Linked DNA regions of Homo sapiens: region 1 is linked to region 2. Evidence: promoter capture Hi-C in 16 types of primary human blood cells and fetal thymus (Javierre and others, 2016). All regions are on one chromosome and are shown on one strand. The core of a region is centred on a gene start or on the middle of the fragment in contact, and the rest is flanking DNA. Distances in the headings are between cores, read along the strand shown. Region 1 overlaps LOC112268235 (a long non-coding RNA gene). Region 2 holds the start of VANGL1 (VANGL planar cell polarity protein 1).

Evidence for each region. The method cuts DNA at HindIII sites, captures the fragments that hold promoters and counts their contacts. A CHiCAGO score of 5 or more calls a contact.
Region 1: a contact is called between a fragment that was not itself captured here and the fragment with the promoter of VANGL1 in region 2, in 1 of 17 cell types (erythroblasts). The highest score is 5.0, in erythroblasts.

Annotation. Positions count from the first base shown.
Region 1 is chr1:116,495,589-116,499,538 of GRCh38, forward strand. The region is part of intron 1 of LOC112268235 (a long non-coding RNA gene); the gene reads left to right. Among named protein-coding and RNA genes, the nearest start is that of LINC01762, 19 kb to the left of the region's middle. RefSeq lists an enhancer at 3,447-3,546. The HindIII fragment of the contact is 1,376 bases long and covers 1,017-2,392 here.
Region 2 is chr1:115,640,229-115,644,307 of GRCh38, forward strand. It overlaps VANGL1 (VANGL planar cell polarity protein 1), which reads left to right and starts at 1,742. Exons shown (of 8, transcript NM_138959.3): 1 at 1,742-1,858. RefSeq lists a silencer at 1,474-2,463 and an enhancer at 1,599-2,357. The HindIII fragment of the contact is 1,717 bases long and covers 939-2,655 here.

The DNA of each region.
Region 1 (3,950 bases), core at 455-2,954, 860 kb after region 2:
AGGAGCTGCCACCCCCTCCTCCAGCTCCCCACCCCCGTGCCCCACTGGAAGACAGGCTTGATTTCCACATCCTGCCTAGCACGGGCTTGGTGAAGCTGGCAGAAGCCCTCTCATCAGTCTCTGTTCTTCTGTCTGGACTGAACCCTCCAGCCCAGGCTTCAGGCCAGGCCTTTGTCTGAACAGATTCCCAGGCCCCACCCACCCTCGACTAACTGAATTTGAATCTTTGAGGGCACAGTCTGGGCATCTGCATATTCTGAAGTTCCTCGATGACCCCATGACCTGCCCAGTTTGGGAACCACTGGCTCAGGGGCCACATGGAAAAAAGGCCAGGCAGGGAGGGGCCGGGGCCTCTCAGACTTTGGGCTGGGCCATTTGTGTGATTCCCTAGTTCCCATCCCAGCCAGTGAGTTTCTTGGAGCAGACATTTCCTCTTACTTATCCCCTCTTACAATCCCCACACAGGGCTGGCCACGTTTAGTATGTGGGAGCTGAATTAAGTTTCCAAATCTCATGGCTCATGTCTGTAATCCCAATATTTTGGGAGGCCAAGGCGGGAGGATCACCTGAGCCCAGAAATTTGAGACCAGCCTGGGCAACATGGGAAGACCCTGTCTCTACAAAAATTTAAACGTTAAAAATATTTTTTAATTAAAATTTTGAAATGTCTCCCCTTCCTAGACCCTGAACCTGTTCAGTTCTCAAGTTGACATGTTCAGAGGCCTGGCTGGTAGAGCCCGGGCCTGGTCCCACAGAATCAGCATGGTCCTGAAACACAAGAGCACAGGAGGCAAAGCTGGAAGGGCCCTTAGAGAACCTCTAGTCCAATAGCTTTCAAATTGTAATCCTAGGTACCCTGGGGTCCCATGGTGGAACCTCAGAGAGCAGGAAAAGGGAAGGGCAGAGGCTCAGTGGGAGGAAATGCCGGCCCTCCCCCCACCTCCACCCTTCCTTCAACCAGGCCAGCTCTGCTTTCACAGCTTTGTGTGACTTTCGCAATAACCAAATGGCTTCCAAGCTTCTCCCCTTGCCAACCCCACCCCCAGCCCCTGTCTATTTTCCATCTGGTGTCCAGAATGATCATTTCAAAACATAAGGCTCATCATGTCCCTCTTCTGTTCAAGACCCTACATTTGGCTTTCCATTTCACTCAACAGCAATCCAAGGTCCTCTTCATGGCCGGCAAGTCCCACCTGTTCTCACCCCGGCTGCCCCTACCTCATCTCAGCCACGCTGGCCTCCTTCGTATCCCTGAATGCACCAAGCAGGCTCTTATCCGACACCTGGGCAGGTCTTCTTCCTTCTGCTGGAAACACTCTTCCCCAAATAGCTGCATCCCTTGCTTCCTCTTGTCCTGACCACCCTATCAAAAAAGGCATCCTGTTCCATCAGCCCAGCCCCTTCCTGTACTGTACTGACTGTCCCTACTGAAATATAGGCTCCACGAAGGGGAGGACTTTGTTTTTTTTTCACTGCTATGTCCCCAGCACCAAGAACAACAGTGGCTGGCACATAGTAGGTGCTCAATAAATAATGATTTCCTGATTTAATCAGATTGGTTTTGAGTCTAAAGTTATTTTGTACGTTTTCTTCTTTACACATTTCTCTATTTTTCAAATTTTCTGCAGTAAATATGCATGTTTTTACCATCAGAAAAAGCAGTAAATGACATAGTCTTTTCTCTAGGACCAATCTTTGGGAGACTCAGAGCTGCTAGAGAATAATTTAAGAAGATGAAGGGAGGCCCTGCCTTGAGCCCCTGGTTCTGAGCAGCACCAGGTCGGTCCTGGTAGACTATAACAATACCACTGATTCCTAATGGTGGATGGGGGAACTTAGTGGGGCTAAGCAGACCCCACTTACCTAACAGCATTTTGTCTTGGGGTCACTGGGGAAGGAGAGAGAAGGAGTGAAAACACGACCAGCAGCAACCCCCTCCCCACTGAAATGCACCAGGATCTCCCTAACCCGATACAACAGACATGAGGACATGGGCTCCCAAGCACCCTCCAGTAAGGCATTGTGGCCATAGGTCATTCTTTAACTGGCACAACTGGCTTTTCTCAGACAGACTTTCTCTTTATTTTCTTCAGGGACTATTACTCTGAGGCCTAGTACCTGCTGCCTCTGCTTATATGACTGAATCTAGAACAAAGAAGAAACATCTTAGCTGAGGGGTCAGGGCTCTGGCCTGACAGAAACCCTGTGGTCTTGTCTCCATGTCAGAGCCCCATGACTCCAAGTGGGTGGGAGTCCTGGGCTCGCCCATGACTCATTGTTCGAGTTCGTAGAGAACTCAGAAGTTCCATATGGAAGCACAGCCTCACAGGCTAGAGACAATTCAGGAAACGAAAGCCCCATTCACTTGATTATTGGTTCATTTTCTGATGGAAGCTTTGCTGATCCTCTTTCATAAGGACCATCTGAAATAGACAACTGAAAAGAGAACTAGGGGGCCATTTCCCTTCCCTCCTCTAGCCCCTGAGCTCGGTCATCAGAGTCATGTGGACCCTAGCCCCTGGAGCTGGATAGGGCCCAGGGGTCATCTGGCCACTGTCTGTTTCATTGTGACTTACCAGGCAGGCCCCCTGATACTCAGGGACACAGCTGCCTGCCTCCTGGGCTGACTTTCCTGCAATGCTCTAGAGCGGAGCCAGCCAGCTTCTCCAAGAAGCCGGTGGTAAATACTCGCTCTGGGCACTGTCACCTTTTCTTTGTTTTTTCCTTACAACCCTTTAGAAACATAAAACCATCCTGAGCTCACGGGCTTCACAGAAACAGGCTGTGAGGATAGGCAAAGTACAGCCCATGAGCAAGACCCAGCCCACTGCCTGTTTTTGTAAAATAAAGTTTTAGTGGACACAGCCCTGCTGATCTCTTGATGAATTGCCTATGGCTGCTTCCACGCTACTACAATCGTGGAATTCTGTAGTTGAGACAGAGCCTGTAAGGTCAATAAAGCCAAAAATAGTTTCTATCTGTCCCTTCATAGAAAACATCTGCCAAGCCCTTCTCTAAAGTTTCATATGCATTCGTTCCTATTTAACACTCAAAACAATTTTTGAGATTAGTATTAGAGATGAGTATTCCTAATCTTACAGATGAAGAAACCGAGAACGAGAAAGGATAAGGCTTGCTCAAGGTCACATGGCTAATGAGGGGCAGAACCAGAACCCAAACCCAGATCTCATCTCTAAACCAGGGCTTCTTCACCTGGTGAAGCCGCTCCCGAAAGGTGGCAATTGTGAAGCGTGGAATATATCTCCTGTTCAGCCCCATCAAGTAGGGTAGCAGCAGGTTCCTTGGTGCCACGGTCTGAGAGAGACAAACTGACCTTGAACAGAAACTCTTAAGATTCTCACCAAATCCCACTGTGCAGAGAATGTCTCCAAGCCCAGTGTGCTCTCTGTGCACAGGAAAGATTCCTTTGGCAAGCTGGCTGGCTGGCAGGAGAGCTGTCCCCTAAAAGCCAAGTTTGGCTTCTGTTAAACATTTAACAACAGGTCGTCACTTCACTGTGAAGAGCCACAGAGCTGCTGCCATCTTCCCATGGAGACGTGGACTGCCCTTGGATCCCCCCAGGTCCCAGGGCTGCCATTTCCTCTAACTGCTGGGAACAGCTATGCCATTATTTGTATGAGAGAGACCCCCAGTGGATATTGCTGGTATCACTGTCCCTAAAAGCAGCTCGGCAAACACCTTCCAGGCTCCCAGAAGCTGGGTGTGTTCAAGATTATTACATTTGAGTAATTGCCCCAGTACCTAAAACCCAATGAGCATTGTCCTCTTCAAAATCCTTCCCGAGGGAGGTTGGTGCCTGCATGTTCTAACAATGCTGCCATTTCACAGAATGTATTTGGAACGCTTCCTTCAAACCTGATTTTTTTTTCTTTTTCTTTTTCTTTTTCTTTTTTTTTTTTTTTTTTGTGAGACGGAGTTTTGCTCTTGTT
Region 2 (4,079 bases), core at 492-2,991:
TCAGCCACCAAGCCCGGCCTCTACATGGCATTTAAAGGTGAATTTATTATTTTAAAATAGGTTATTTGCAACTACCCCTCTTTCCCACAAAACATCATCTGGTAAGGTGGCTAGACATAAGAACCTAAGTGAATTAGAATTACTTTCTGAAAACTCATTGAAGATCTCTGTGTTAATTGGAGCTATTCAGGTACATGACTAGAATTGGAAATCCCTGGCCTGTTTGAACTTTGAAAGTTCTACATTTTAGAGATGAGAGAGACATGTTTTTATAATGTTCTACATTTCTGACCCTGAGTGCTGATTTGGGTGAATAGACCATTGGCTTTACCCATAGGAACCTGGCTGCCTGAGTCAGCAACATCTGCTCTCTGGAGCCTACTGGGAGGCTGGGGGTGGGGGAGGAAGATGGTCTAGGCCACTGAGTGGGGCAGCAGAGCCTGGGGACTAGGAGTGGTGAAAATCAGCCACATTGAACATATGGGTGTCTTCTCAAGGAAATGTGACATATGCGAGAGAAAATGGAGTCTAGAAGGGATGAGGAAGAGGTGATCAAGGGAGTGAGGGGTTCTTGGAGCCAAGGTTCCCTGATTAAGGCTAGTCAGGGTGGGCCTGCATTTCCCCACCCCAAATGCCCGCAATACTCCTGTAGACAACTCTTAGGAAATTCAGCACTTCATTATACACTGCTTCCACTGGAAAATCCTGCCACGTAAGCAGCTTTGGGTCCCAGCTAGATTGGAGATGATCAGTAAGGAACCCTAATGCTACCAACACAAGACAACTAAGAAAAGTGCAAATATTCATGAAAATCGTTGCCAACTGTTTTGTAATCCTCACCACAATCCTGCAAGGTGGACAGCAGCATCCTCACCACTTTTCAGACAGGTAAACAAAGGCTCAGAAAGGAAACAGTACCTGGTTGGAATCAGCACTGAAGCTTCAGCTACCTGCCTGCAGAGATGTGCTCATCTAGCAGTTTCTAGGAGACTAGGCTGGCGGCAGTGCCTGCTCTGATAAGGGAGGAGGAGGGGAGAGGCTTGCTGTGGTGGCTTGTAGGGGGTGTGTGTGTGTGTGTGTGTGTGTGTGTGTGTGTGTCTATTTGTGGGGTCATTTCCAGGGCTACATGTGAGTTTAAGTGTGTGTATATGGGTTGAGATATGGTGTATATGGATATTTGTCGGTCAGTTCTTGGAAAGTGTGTATATGAGTGTGTGTTGAGTGGGGTTGGGGGGTTAGTCCCTGAGCCGTGTGAATATGTGGATGGGGGCACTCGTGAGGGCAAATGGGCTCGGATTTTGTGCATGATTGTGTGTGTGTGTGTGTGTGTGTGAGCTTGAGATTCCAAGTATGTGGGGGAGGGAGGGGGCGGTGTCGGAGATCAATCCCTGGGCCATGTGTTTATAGTGTGTGTGTCTGCCCAGAAGAGAGTGGGTTACTGGGCTGTGCACGTCTGTGTAGGGTGAGTGTGTGTATGAGGGTGAATGAGTGTGGGAGGTGTCATTCCCTGGTCCGTGTGTAAGAGTGTGACCGCGCACGCCTTCGTGTGTGTCCCGGGTGTGTGGGGTCGGGGCGGTGACGAGGTGAGGGGGACGCCGGCCGAGCCCCGCCCTCCGCTGCAGGTGGGCCGGCCCCGCGGCGGGGCCGGCAGCGCTAGCTGTTCTTGGCTCGCGGCCGCGCCGGGCTCGCAGGGCTGGGCTCGGGCTGCGGGGCGGCGCCGGGACAGGAAGCGGAAAGCAGCAGTGCAGCGGCGGCGGCGGCGGGGCTCTGCCTCTCCAGGAGCCCAGCGCAGGCCGCAGAGCCGGGGCCGCTGTGAGCCGAGACCGCGGGCCGCGGAGCTCGGGCGGCCGGCGCGGAGGTGAGTCCCGCGAGAGGCCGAGCGCTGCGCGGCGGCGGTCCCCGGGGCAGACCGTTGGCTGGGAGACGCCCCCACCTCGGACCCCGCGTGCCCCTGCGCCCTCCTCCCGCATTCGCCCCGCCGGACTTCGACCCCGGGTGGCCGGCTCCCGCCTCGGGCCGGGGGCTCCCTCCCCTCCTCCGGAGCGCTCCGGGTAGTGCTTCCTCTGACTCCACTCTTCTCCCCATGCGTTGCGCCCCTCCTGGCCCTGCCGTGCGATCTCCGCCGCACCCCACTCCTTGGGGTCCCGGGGTTCCCTGCTCACACCTCGGACGTCCCTTTCTCCCCGGGCTGGCCTTTGGAGTGCGCCCCTTCGGTGCGCGTGCCGGGGCGGCGGGCAGGCCGGCAGGGAGTGGCCGAGCGTTGGAGGCACCGGGCGGCTGCAGCAGCCGTGCAGGGCGGGAGCCGGGCGCGCACCGGGGTTCCCACCCCTGGCGGGGCTCGACCCGGGCGCCGCCTGGCCCTTCGCCAGGAACCGGGACAGAGCTGGTCTGTGTGCACACCTCGCTCACAAAAAATTGAGCCGGCCCTGGAGGCCTGGGGGGCGAGTCCGGTTGCGCCTCGGAGAGCGCAACAGGCAGGTAGGAGTTTACTTTCAAAAACGCCGGGGTGGAGCAGAGGCGCCTGGCGGGTCTCTGCCCAAGGTGTCCCTGCTGGAGGAAATCTCACCGCGCCGGGGCAGCCTTCGCCACCGGCAGGACCTCATTTCCTTCTGCAGTCTTTGAACTGCCCCAAGCATCGCGCCTAGAGAAGTGTGAAGCTTTATAAAAATTTAAACGCGTCCGTGGTGGCGGCAGCAGTGGGGCGGAGCCGCGGCCTGGCTGCTGTGTGATGAGCAGATGAGACTTGGAGCTGAGGAATCTGTTGCTCAGTTTTCACTTCTCCAAACCAGGTCTAATGCCCACGCTGCGAAGGTGTTGTGAGCTCTCTTAGATTCTCCTTAGGAAGTGTTAGAGCGCCTTATGATGATGATTGTGTAGATGGCCCATGCATTTTGTTAAAACTCTTGACCTGGCTTTGGTTAGAAATGAATGTATTCTTAGACACTTAGTCCAAAAGCTAACAAACTGTAAAAGAATCTGGCATTTTCACTGACATGTTTATAAATTTTACGGGGCTGCTGAAAAATATTATAACTTGTATCACCAGTCAACAATGCTAATTAGCATTCTCCCGTCAGTGGGTGGGTTGAGTACACAGCTCCCAGGCTCTGCAAGTGAGATGGCAGAAATTGTCTGAATACAGGGAGAGGTAATTAGCCATTTTCTGTAACCACTAATTATAGAGTTTTTAGGGTTGAATTAAATCAATGTGATATAGTTGGGGCTTTGATTTGTGGGAGGAAACTGTTTCTTTTTCCAGTTCAAAGAAATAACACGCTTCACCTATCCATGAGCATTAAACATTCCCAAACGTTGATGTCTCTCAGTATAATTAGTGAAAACACTCAGTGTGGAATTTCACTATTAACAATGTTGGCAGTGAGGCTTGCTTGCAACTTAATTTGTAAGTAAAATGGGAGAAGAATTTTGAGAGTGATATATTTGTAAGGACTGCTTGCCAAGCAGTACATTTTTATTGTCTTATGTATTAAGCAACAGGACAAAACCATAAAGGAAATTTAAAGTTTCTTTACCAAGCAACAATTCCATGTCACCCTTTGTTTGAAGGATAAATGTGTTGAATGAAGAAGGCATCCTCCCCTTCATCATCCCCTTAACACACTTATATACACACACTGTGCTTGCTACCCTAGGCCTTATCAGCTATTTTGGTGGGATGGGCCCTTGTCACATTGTGTTTTAATTGGAGGTCTCCACATTGGGGCTGTGAGCTCATTGGGAGTTAGAACTATTTTAGATCCATTTCTTTTCTCCTGAGTGCCCCACGATGCTTGGAACACTGAACCTGTGAGTAGAAGTTGAAATTGCAAAATTCTTAGTGGGGTTATATGTGGTTTGGGACAATTTGTGATTGTTGCTTATACTCCTCTATATAAACAAACAATTCTAGTAATTGCTACAGTGCTGTCAATTTTCTGTAGCTAAGAACACAGGTTCTGGAGTTAGACTCTCAACGTTTAAGCCCTGGCTCCTGTGGCAGTCTGGTTTCCCTAACTAACATGATATTAATGTCTTATTTTTCTTAAACACTTGTTATGCGGATTAAGTGAGATATTACA